Linked DNA regions of Homo sapiens: regions 1, 3 and 4 are each linked to region 2. The links are contacts of gene promoters, found by promoter capture Hi-C in human tissues and cell types (Jung and others, 2019). All regions are on one chromosome and are shown on one strand. The core of a region is centred on a gene start or on the middle of the fragment in contact, and the rest is flanking DNA. Distances in the headings are between cores, read along the strand shown. Region 1 overlaps ZFAND3 (zinc finger AN1-type containing 3). Region 2 holds the start of ZFAND3 (zinc finger AN1-type containing 3). Region 3 overlaps ZFAND3 (zinc finger AN1-type containing 3). Region 4 overlaps ZFAND3 (zinc finger AN1-type containing 3).

What was found. Contacts are between HindIII fragments. The study calls those that stand out against the background at their distance.
Region 1: a fragment that was not itself captured here is called in contact with the fragment with the promoter of ZFAND3 in region 2 in 1 of the 25 tissues and cell types used here (hippocampus).
Region 3: a contact is called between a fragment that was not itself captured here and the fragment with the promoter of ZFAND3 in region 2, in 4 of the 25 tissues and cell types used here (adrenal gland, dorsolateral prefrontal cortex, hippocampus and 1 more).
Region 4: a fragment that was not itself captured here is called in contact with the fragment with the promoter of ZFAND3 in region 2 in 2 of the 25 tissues and cell types used here (IMR-90 fibroblasts and dorsolateral prefrontal cortex).

Annotation. Positions count from the first base shown.
Region 1 is chr6:38,085,138-38,087,954 of GRCh38, reverse strand. All of the region lies in intron 4 of ZFAND3 (zinc finger AN1-type containing 3), which reads right to left. Among named protein-coding and RNA genes, the nearest start is that of ZFAND3, 270 kb to the right of the region's middle. The HindIII fragment of the contact is 5,011 bases long and covers 1-2,817 here.
Region 2 is chr6:37,818,475-37,821,175 of GRCh38, reverse strand. It overlaps ZFAND3 (zinc finger AN1-type containing 3), which reads right to left and starts at 1,449. Exons shown (of 6, transcript NM_021943.3): 1 at 1,160-1,449. The coding sequence starts at 1,230. ZFAND3-DT (ZFAND3 divergent transcript) reads left to right here and starts at 1,789. Exons shown (of 2, transcript XR_007059569.1): 1 at 1,789-2,598; 2 at 2,686-2,701. RefSeq lists silencers at 823-992, 1,153-1,382, 1,423-1,802 and enhancers at 1,081-1,883, 1,853-2,242. The HindIII fragment of the contact is 25,591 bases long and covers 1-2,701 here.
Region 3 is chr6:38,102,601-38,105,581 of GRCh38, reverse strand. The region is part of intron 4 of ZFAND3 (zinc finger AN1-type containing 3); the gene reads right to left. Among named protein-coding and RNA genes, the nearest start is that of ZFAND3, 280 kb to the right of the region's middle. The HindIII fragment of the contact is 4,358 bases long and covers 1-2,981 here.
Region 4 is chr6:38,130,187-38,133,275 of GRCh38, reverse strand. The region is part of intron 5 of ZFAND3 (zinc finger AN1-type containing 3); the gene reads right to left. It overlaps LOC124901314 (a long non-coding RNA gene), which reads right to left. Exons shown (of 2, transcript XR_007059570.1): 1 at 1-3,089. Among named protein-coding and RNA genes, the nearest start is that of ZFAND3, 310 kb to the right of the region's middle. The HindIII fragment of the contact is 3,667 bases long and covers 1-3,089 here.

The sequences.
Region 1 (2,817 bases), core at 261-2,760, 270 kb before region 2:
AACCTAACAGCAAGGAAACATTTCATGCTGGAAACATTCTTAGCTATTGTGAATAGTGCTGCAATATATATGGGAGTGCAGATACCACTTCAGTATACTTATTTCCTTATTTTGGCTATGTACCCAGCAGTGGAATGGCTGGATCATATGGGAGCCCAATTATTTGAGAAACCTCCAAACTGTTCTCCATAGTGGTTGTAATAATTTACATTCCCACCAACAGTGTACAAGGAATTCCTTTTCTCCACATCCTTGTCAATACTTGTTATTGCCTGTCTTCTGAATATAAGCCAGTTTAATTGGGGTGAGATGACATCTCATTGTAGTTTTGATTTGTAGTTCTCTGACGATCAATGATGTTGAGCAACTTTTTATATGTCTGTTTGCCATTCATAGGTCTTCTTTTGAGAAATGTCTATTCAAATCTTCTGTCTGTTTTTTTGATCGATTATTAGATTTTGTCCTATTTAGTTGTTGGAGCTCCTTAAATATTCTGGTTATTAATCCCTTGTCAGATGAGTAGTTTGCAAATATTTTCTCCCATTCTCTGGGTTGTCTCTTCACTTTGTTAGCTGTATTCTTTGCTGTGCAGAAGCTGTTTAACCTGATGTGATCGCATTTGTCCATTTTAGCTTTGGTTGCCTGTGCTTGTGGGGTATGCTCAAGAAATTTTTGCCCAGACCAATGTCCTGGATATTTCTCCCAATCTTTTCTTGTAGTAGTTTCATAGTTTGAGGTTTCAGATTTAAGTCTTTAATCCACTTTGATTTTATTTTTGTATGTGGAGAGAGACAGGGGTCTAGTTTCATACTTCTGCACATGAGTATCCAGTTTTCCCAGCACCATTTATTGGAGATATTTTCTTTTCTCTAGTATATGTTCTTGGCACCTTTGTCAAAAATGAGTTCACTGTAGGTGTGTGGATTTGTTTCTGGGTTCTCTATTCCATTCCATTGGTCTACATATCTTTTTATGCCAGTTTGAGGTTGTTCTGGTTAGTATAGCTCTGTAGTATAAATTGAAGTCTCATAATGTCATTCCTCCAGTTTTGTTCTTTTTGCTTACGATAGCTTTGTCTATTCTGGGTCTTTTGTTGTTCCATATAAATTTTAGGATTTTTTTCTATTTCTGTGAAGAATGTCACTGGTATTTTGATAGGGATTGCATTGAATCTGTGCCCACTTTAAACATAAAAATATACTGTCATGAAGATAGCCAGCTAAATATCCAAATACCTTCCAAATAAAATTAAAGGAGATGACTGTAACTCCGGTTACAGTATTTTATTAGCTGAAGGTATAACTTGACGGTTAGAAAAGATGAGGGACAAAAGGGAATCTTCTTGTAGTTTGTTGCCAAGGAAAGTGATCTCTTTCCTTCACAAAATACTTGTTCTTGGCAGGAATGTTGTGAGAATTAACAAGGGAACATGTGGAAAACATTCTGAGCTCTGAAGAAATGTAAACTCTGTCTAGTAATCTGAAGGTATGATGTGCTTTAACTCACACATTCTAACCAAAAGCAACCTAGGACTTGGCAGTACTTTTCAACTCTTCATTGACTGTGGAGATCCTAGAACTCTACAAAGATGGTAGGGGTGGGGTGGAGTGGGAACGACCACACACCCTTCATCTATCTAATTTCTCTCTGTTTAAATACCAAAATGATCATCGTGTTGCTTTTTTATTTTTTTTTAATCTAAAGATTACAATGAGTTTAACTGTTAATAATTCTGTCTGGCTAAAAGCCATCATATAAAGAAAAGTCTTTCCCATCTATCTCACAAAGACAAACTGATCTTTCATTTGCTACTACAGCTACTTTTTGCAATCTGCTTCGTAGACTCACAGTGATCACAAAACAATTTCTTAAAAAAGAGCTGCCTCTCTCATTTTGATAGTTGTAGACCAACCACTCTACACTGCTGCCCACCTCTAAAATATGACAATACCCTTCACCTGATCAAAACAGTAATTGCTTGAAATACAAATGGTGACTGATTAATCAATCACTGAGGTCTTCACTTACTAAACCACATAATAATGGGTCTAATGCTAATCCTTAGAGCTAATTTTCAAAGTACTAAGAAGAAAATGATCTGTTTACTGAAGAAGTCATTAACCTTTTTAAACTGCATAGTCCTATCTAACTGGCCATGTACCTTTAATATGTATATATTTGTGTGTGTATTTGCTGTTTATAAACTGCATGTATGGGCTGAGCACGGTTGCTCATGCCTGTAATCCTAGCACTGTGGGAGGTCAAGGCGAGAGGACTGCCTGAGCTCAAGAGTTTGAGACCAGTCTGGGCAACATAATAAGACCTTGTCTTTATTAAAAAATAAAAATAAATAAATAAATAAAAGTATATGTATGAACACACACACATATAATAAAGTGAATTTGCAAAATATAAATTAAGGCTGAGATAAAGAGCTTTTGCTATTTTCTCCACACACCTCAGACAGTACATTGTGTGCCCTTTGTCAGAGACGGCTGACTTAAAGAACCACCTTAGTCTAATCTCAGTATCCTTGTTCTAACACACATCATTATTAAGCTCAAGGCTGCTTTAGGTCCAACCTTGTATGGATAGATTGGATGGGAGGAGGTAGGTAAGATCTCACTTAAGGTCTCACTCTGTGTCTCCTAAGAAATGACACCACTGTAAAGTAATTATTTACTGACCATCTATGCCTGAAGGCCCATGTGGTTTCTGTCTGGGAGACTACCTCACAGTAGAAGCACTGTACAGCACATGTCATAGATATGAATCCTAACTTGAAGAGCCTAGACATAAAGGCTACAAAGAACATTC
Region 2 (2,701 bases), core at 200-2,699:
TAATTTCTGTTAACCATTCCTACAATATGGGAGATAGCAAAGGGAAAACTACTTCCATACTTCTTCCCAAGATGTCCTCACCAGAAACAATCTTCCTTCCTGCCTCTATGTCTCCAAATATACGGAATCTCTCAAAAAATAAAACTAAAACAAAACGATAAAAGAGAAAAGGGACTCAAATCACAAAAGCCAGCCTTCAAAGTCTCCAGCTTTCTTACTGCAGAACTACAGTCATGTGGTATGATGGAGGCACCTGTTAGGTGGCAATCCATGAAGCTTAAAGTGTTACCAGGAGAATTTAAACAGTAATGGGGGGAGGAAGAGGAGCTGATTTCCCACCTCACATTTTTTTCGCCTTAACACATGATGGCCAAACAATATATGCTACCCACTGTCAACATTTTTATCATTTTTACTTAAATTGAGAAAGAGGAGAATTTGAGAGCCAACTGAGGAAACTGGATCTCATATTCCCCAATCCAGGCTGACTTCAGGTTTTGTGTGGTTTTTTTCTTCCTTTTTGACAAGGAAATTTTACATATCTCCTGAAACGTGTTTTACATGAAGGTGAGACCTCAACAATCTTATAACTTTACCCCAGCCTGGTTCTGGACTCGGTTTTTACAAACGGGTGACGTGTGAATAGCTTCCTAAAAGCAAATGGGGCACTGGGATATAATCTAGGAAGTGATGATGCAAGTCTCCGGAGGACGGGGAGGAGGGGAGGTGAAGAAGTCAGAGGAAATACCCTCCTAGTGCCTGGGCACCAACTCACGCCCCGGGAGGGAGGAAGGGCTGGCTTCCACATGCCCACGGAAGGGGCACCCCTGCTCCTCCCGGAGCGGTCAACGCCGCCCCCTCATCCCTCCCCGCCGCCCTGCCCCCCTCACCCGTGGCCCAGGAGGCCCCCGTGGGCCCGAGCTTCAGGCCGGCGAGTCCCAAAGGGTAGCAACGCACCCCCGGCAGGGCCTTCTCTGCCCACCCCCAGCTCCCCACCCGGCACCCCTCCCCGGAACGCGACCCCCACCCCCTCCCCGTAGGCCCGGGCTGGGCCCAGCCTCCAAGGTTCCGGCCTCCCGGGCCCCGAGGCCTGCCCAGGCTGCCCTGGCGTCTGCGCCCCCGGCCCCCGCCCCCCGCCCCCACCCGGCCGGGCACTTACCCCCAGAAGCCGCAGGGACAGCGAGGCGGCAGGCTGGGCGCTTTGCTGCGCTCGCTCCCAGCGTCTCCCATGGTGCTCGGCGGCGGCGGAGCTCGGCGGCGGCAGCGGTGGCGGCGGCTGGGCCCGGGCCCCGCTCTGAGGAGGCGGTGGCGGCGGCGTCGGGGGGCTCGGGGCGGGGGGAGGGGGAAGGAGCGGGCGCGCGGGCGGGCGCGAGTCCGGGGCTCGGAGCCGGGATTCCAGGCCGGTCAGCTGGAGGCGGGCCGCACCACTCGGCCTGCGGAGACGGGGAGGGGGCGGAGAGGCGCGGAGAGAAGAAGGAGGGAGCCGAGGAGGAGGGGCGTGCGGACGCACCGAGGACCGCGGGGGAGGAGGGACACAGACGCCCTCGGCGGGTCTCACCGCCGCTCCCCAGCCAGAGAGATGTCCTGTGCGGTGGCGCAGGGAAGGACCGGAGCCCCCCGCCGGCTCCGGAGTCGCAGCGGCCGCTCTGAAGCCCCGGGCCCTGCTGTCTCCGTAACACCGTCCCCTCCCCCGGAGGCTGCGCTGACCGGACAATGGCCGCTCCGCCCCCTCCCCGGCGTGCGCCCCTCCCGAGGAGTCACAATGGTCTCGCCCGGGGGAGCCAACGCCAAAGCCCAGCCGCTGATCAGCTGGGATCCGGGCGTGCCACTTCGTTCCGCGCCTCAAAGGCGGAGTGCGGGGCTGTGGGAGAAAACGAGAGCCTCGGGCTGTCGCCCGGCGACGGGCGGCTGAGGCCTTCGTATTCTTAGAACTTTTAGAATCTGAAGCAAACTTATCTTCCCCCTGTCTGAAGAAGGGGAGCAGGTTTCTGAGTACTCCGGGGCGCGGTGCCTCCCCCTAAACGCGAATGGTGCGCTCCAAGCGGGAGGGGGAGGAGCAGATTAGTTGTGTAGGGTAAATTGGGCCAGTCCCAGAGTGGCGGCGCATGCGCCCGTAGAACCCGTAACCGAGTGCGAGGAGGGGCCTGGGGGAGCAATGCCAAACGCGGAAGTGGAGCTCTGGCTTCCCGGGGGCGTCGGAGTCAAGGTCCCTGGAGCTGCCGCTCTGGCTCCTGGGCGATTCCGGGGAGCCATTCTCCCCAATTTGCCAACTCCCTGGGCATCTCTCTCTCTCTTCCTGGTCCCGCCACACCCAAACAACTCTTATAGTTCCACCCGGTATACTGGTCTCTTGACAGGAACTTTTGGGAAATGCCCCTCCCCCAGCCCCTTGTCTGGGGCAACTTCCTTGTCTCTTCTCCCCCACCGGTGTTGGGGAGTTCCTTGTCTCCACTCCCAACCACAGAGCCACAAGTACATTATCTATGCCCAGGCGAGTCCCTATGCCCAGGCTAGGAGAGCCGCACTTCTTCCTACAGCTGACACGTTTGGTTTTTGGAGGGGAAAGGGGAGCTGTAGCTGAATCAGTAATGGAAATTGGTAAGTGACCAAAGAAGTTTGAGACACTAAAAAAATGAGTCCTTTAACGATCCTAGTCCTTGATCCTGAGCTCATTCTGATCTCCAGTTAGTCATGAACAGAG
Region 3 (2,981 bases), core at 292-2,791, 280 kb before region 2:
GCCATGTCCACTTCCCTCTGTTCCCCACTGATCCCTGGCAACCTGGGACAAACTAATTTCTTCTTCATTTCCAGAATTTTGTCATTTCAAGAATGTCACATATGTGAACATATACATGGAACCATACAGTGTGTACACAACCCATGTGTCCAAACTCATTAAAAAAATTTTTTTTAATAGACTGGGTCTTGCTCTGTTACCCGAGCTGGAGTGCAGTGGCATGATCACAGGTCACGGCAGCCTCAAACTCCTGGGCTCAAGCGATCCTCCCCTCAGCTTCTGGAGTAGCTGGGATTACAGGCATGACCCACCATGCCTGGACTTGTACAAGCCTATTTTTAAGGCCACTTATCATGGAAGGTGGATATGACAAAAGAGATTCCTTAAAGTTAAGCTTCCTAATAATTGCAATAATGAACACTAACACAAAGCACATATTCTTTATCAGCACCTTCTAAATGCTCTTACATATATTAACTCATTTTGGTGTTACAACAAGGCTATGAGGTAGCTACTACCTGCATTTCACACATGAGGAAACTGAGGCATTGGTTAAGTGAACTGCCCACAGTCACACAACAAATAAGTGAAGAGTAGCCTGGCCTAGAGTCCTTGCTCTTAACTACTATATATCCTGTCTCCAACAGTTGCTACACTTAAAGATGCTACTTCTGCTTTCCCATAAGAGTACCTTATTACGAAGACAACTTTCTGCTACTTTCTGCGTATACAAAGACCCAGCTGTCTCTGGGATGAGGGCAGGGGACAGATCCTGGGGCAAATATAGGAATGAAAACAAGCTCCTCTATTTCATAAAATTATCTTGTCCAAATATGATTATTAATTTATCTAGGATATATCTCTGCTGAATAAATCTACTTGTTCTCTGCTCTTAGAATATGATTTATAAGACTTCTCACATGATTTTCTTTCCACTCCTGCTAACTCTCTGGATTTCTGTGGACTGTAGTCATATAGTACTTAATTTATTCATTATCTTCTTTTCTGATGTACAACATCATTCCACCAGTCATATCTTAGGCTTAATCTTGGATTTAGATACTTGCATGTTATTTTTAAAGACTTCATCCACAAAAGTTTCTTTACTGATTACTTGTAGGATACAAAAAAAACTTCTCCCCATTAGCACAAGAAAACCTAGGTATTTTCATTTGAAATTTTATTGCTTTTAATTATCAGATAAGGCAAAACATGTCTTCTCAGCTTTATATGGGTCTCACAGGCAGAAGTCAAAGCTTCCTCTTCTCAACCACCCCGAGAGTGTCCTACAGCTCATACGCGAGGTCTCTTTACCAAAAAGGCACAGATGAGGATGGGTTCATTGAAAAACTGCAGCCACCATCCCTGTTTGTTAAGTGCCATTTCCACTGCACTAATTACTGAAAGGGCATTGCCAGGAGCTAAATTCCTCAAAGAGGTGTCTGGTCAGTGGAACCTGTCAGGCTAGCAATACAGCAGTCATCCTTTGTGGCTGATACTTAGCCTAGCACCATTTCCTTGTTTTAGCTTCTCCATATCAGCAAGACCTCTCCTGCCTGCCCAACTATATTACTTTTTTCTCATAAAGTTTTCAGTTCTCATTGTAAATGACAAATGAACCTCAATAGATAACCTTTCCTTTTTATAACATGCTTGGGCATTTTGGAGTTCAACAACATTACAATGCATTGATGTTTAAAAATACTACATTTATAGCATCAGTGGAGTACCGAATAAGGTAGTACTCTAAGTTAAGACAAAACAGACAGAAAAGCAAAACTGAAAAACCTAACAGAAAAATCTACTTCTCAAAGTCCACATGCCCAAGTCCCCTAATTTTAATCTGTTCCTTGGCCCCAAGTCAGTCTATAACCATAAGAATTCAAAGATTTGTACAGTGTTCGTACAGTGTTAAGACTAGATAGAACTTCAGTTCTACTATCTTTTGCAGTATTTATCAGAAGAGCAAAATCAGCCAAGATTTTTCATCTGCCAAAAGAGAGAAACTTGAGAAGTCCGTGAAGTGTGTATGTATGTATGTGTGTGTGTATATATATGTGTATATATACACGTGTATATATATACACGTGTATATATGTGTGTATATATATACACGTGTATATATGTGTGTATATATATACACGTGTATATATATGTGTGTGTATATACGTGTGTGTGTATATATATGTGTGTGTGTATATATATATTGTGTGTATATATATATATATATATACATACACACACACACACCCAGATTTATTTTCATATACGGTTAAGTCCTCAATGTTGCTGACAGGCTCTTAGAAACTGTGACTTTAAGGAAAACAACATATAACAAAGCCAACTTTTTTTCTCATAACGTCATAACCAAATGATGTTATCTGAGGACCTGTTGTCGTTCCCCTTAAAGTCGCAGTTTGAAAGAATCAATCAACAACATTAAGTGAGGACTTACTGTAACTGTGTTTAAGATGGGCAATGCTGTTTTCATTTTCTTAGAACATTCATTTAGAAGTTAAACTTCCAGCCAGGCGCGGTGGCTCACGCCTATAATCCCAGCACTTTGGGAAGCCGCAGCAGGTGGATCACCTGAGGTCAGGAGTTCAAGACCAGCCTGGCCAACATGGTGAAACCCCATCTCTACTAAAAATACAAAAATTAGTTGGACATGGTGGCACGCGCCTGTAGTCCCAGCTACTCCAGAGGCTGAGGCAGGAGAATTGCTTGAACCCAGGAGGCGGAGGTTGCAGTGAGCCGAGATCGCGCCACTGCATTCCAGCCTGGGGGACAGAGCAAGACTCTGCCTCAAAAAAACAAACAAAAAAGTTAAACTTTCTAGAAATACAGAGTAAGTCTCCTGCCTACTCTGTAGTTACGTGAAGCCTAGAGGCATTTAAATTCAGCCTTATAAAATTATACAACTTTTGGGCAGCTGGATAGTACCTGCAACTGTGGGCACTTCCTCCTACTGTTGACTTATA
Region 4 (3,089 bases), core at 480-2,979, 310 kb before region 2:
GAGAACTGCAGAAGAATATCGTTAAGTGCTCATGGTCTGGAGAAAGGACAGACATGTAAACAGACAATTTCAATATGCTCTGAGACATATATCATAAACAGAGGCCAACCATGGACTCCACAGAAGAGAAGACTGTTGAGCTGTCTCAGGGGAGATCACCAGATGAAGGGTTTTGTTAAAAAAGACACCAGGTTTTGTGAGGGCCTCACTGAGAAAAACTGTGGAGACAAACACTGAGTCCAGTCCTGTTTCTGACCCTGTCCTTCATGCTCCAATATCAGTTCTGTGGTCTCTGAGAATGAATTTGTTACTGCGGGAGCTGGGCTGCTGGAAAGCTTACATCACAGTGCTCAAATCTGTGAACAGGCTTGAAGAAGAGGATTTGTGACAGACTGCTCCGGAGGGCAGAGTGAGGGGGAATGAGTATGTGTTCTAGAGGGAGGCCAGTTTAAGCTGGGTAGAGGAAGCACCTAGTCAATCTAAGTTGCCCAGCAACAGGAGATGCCATACATCCTCCATGCAGGAGATGCCACACTCCCTCCATGCAGATGTACACAGTGGGACTACCTGCCAGGAAACTGCTGATGGGGTTTATGCAGCGTCAGTTTAGGGGTCTGGACTGGCACCAGATGGATGGCTTCTAAGATACCTTAATTACTTGGATTATATGTCAAGGAATCGCAAGTTTGTTAGGCAGGAATCAGAGACTAGTGCGGTTACACACAGTAGGTCTGTGACCTCCGAAGAACCCATGTATTTTGTTTTCTATGAGACAGGGTCTCACTCTGTTACCCTGGCTGGAGTGCAGGGACATGATCACAGCTCAATGCAGCCTCAAATTCCTAGGCTCAAGCAATTCCTCTCCCTCAGCCTCTGAGTAGTTAGGACTATGGCATATGCCACCACACTAGGCTTATTTTATTTTTTTGTAGAGACGGGTTTTTGCTACATTGTCCAGGCTGGTCTTGAACTCCTGGCTTCAAGCGATCCTCCCACCTTGGCTCTCAAAGTGTTGGGATTACAGGTGTGAGCCACCGCACCCAGCCCACAGAACCCATCTTATTCATGTCCAAGTACTAATACAAACACAGGTTTTATTTGTGCAAGTACACCCTTCCCCAAAGTTGAGTTATTTAATTAAACTCATAAGCATACCAAATAATTTTAATTCAAGCAAGCAAGGACACTACCCTATCTGACAGCATATATGTCTAGTCTGAATTATTTTCTTCCTCTACCAATAAAAATTGGTGGGGGGGAAACACTCTATCTGGATCTTTTTCGTTCAGCCAAATAATCCACTGGGAAATCCTGAGGCTGCACATGTACCCTGGACCTCAAGAATTTACATGGCTACTGGCCCAGAAATATTCCCACTCAGCTGTGGTTGGGCCTGCTTTCAAACACTGTTCCAAAAGGGCTTTCCCCTAATCATAAGCAGCAGGCTCATGAGGACACCACATTTCTTGGACTTTCCATTTTTTCTTGTACATTATTAGTCACCACTGACTGGGCAGCCACTACAGGCCACATACTCCAATAGGGGCTGTGGGAAGTTACAGAGCATCATGTACTCCTGCCTGCTGAGATTTTTTGAGTCTGGCAAGGAAGGGGACAACAGTGGGAGGAAGGTATGTGTTACACACCCAAAAGGTATAAATCTCTAAGTGAGAGAGAATGGAAGTGACTGGAACCAATATGAAACCTCATTGATGTGGGTACTACTCATTTGCAATTTCCAGTAATTCTCTTTGTTTCTAAATTATCTTGGTGTTTCCTATGAACAAATGAGTCTATAAAATGTACAGGCAGTATGGTCTAACTTGGGGGTACATTAAAATTACTTAAAGAACTGCGTTTTTACCTTCTAAAGAAGGACTCTAAAGCGCTGGGCTGAGGCCCACACTTCTTAGAAGTACTCCTTAAGAGGGGAATCACAAACCCAGAAGAAGAAAAGAACCAATATCAGAGTAAAACTAAATGAAACAAAAAAATCACAAAAGATAAATGAAACAAAAAGCTGTTTTTTTTGAAAAGATAAATAAAATTCATAGGCCATTAACAAGATTAACTAAGAAGAGAGAAAATCCAAATAAGCTAAATAAGAAATGAAACGGAAGAGATTACAACTGACAACACAGAAATACAGAGGATCAATCAAGGCTACTATGAACACCATTATGCACATAAACTAGAAAAACCTAGACGAGATGGATAAATTCCTGGAAAGATACAACCCTCCTAGCTTACATCAGGAAGAATTAGATACCCTGAACAGACCAATAACAAGCAGTAAGACTGAAATGCTAATTAAAAATATATCAACAAAAAAAGTCCAAGACCAGACGGATTCACAGCAGAATTCTACCAGACATTCAAAGAAGAGTTGGTACTAATCCTATTGACACTATTCCACAAGATAAAGAGGAAACCCTCCCCAAATCATTCTATGAAGCCAGTATCACCCTAATACCAAAACCAGGAAAGAACATAACCAAAAAAGAAAACTACAGACCAATATCCCTGATGAACATATATGCTAAAATCCTTAACAAAATACTAGCTAACCAAATCCAACAACATATCAAAAAGATAATCCACCATGATCAAATGGGTTTCATACCAAGGATGCAGGGATGGTTTAACATACTCAAGTCAATAAATGGGATATACCACACAAACATAATTGAAAACAAAAATCACATGATCATCTCAGTAGATGCAGAAAAAGCATTCAACAAAATCCAGCATCACTTTATGATTAAAACTCTTACCAAAATCAGCATACAAGGAATATACCTCAATATAATAAAAGCCATCTATGACAAGCCTGCAGCCAACAAAATACTGAATGGGGAAAAGTTGAAAGCATTCCCTCTGAGAACTGGAACTAGACAAGGATGCCCACTGTCACCACTCCTCTTCAACATAGTACTGGAAGTCCTAGCCAGAGCAATCAGACAAGAGAAAGAAATAAAGGGCATCCAAATCATTAAGGAGGAAGTCAAACTCACTGTTTGCTGATGGATGATATGATCGTTCACCTAGAAAACTCTAAAGACTCCTCTAGAAAGCTCCTAGAACTGATT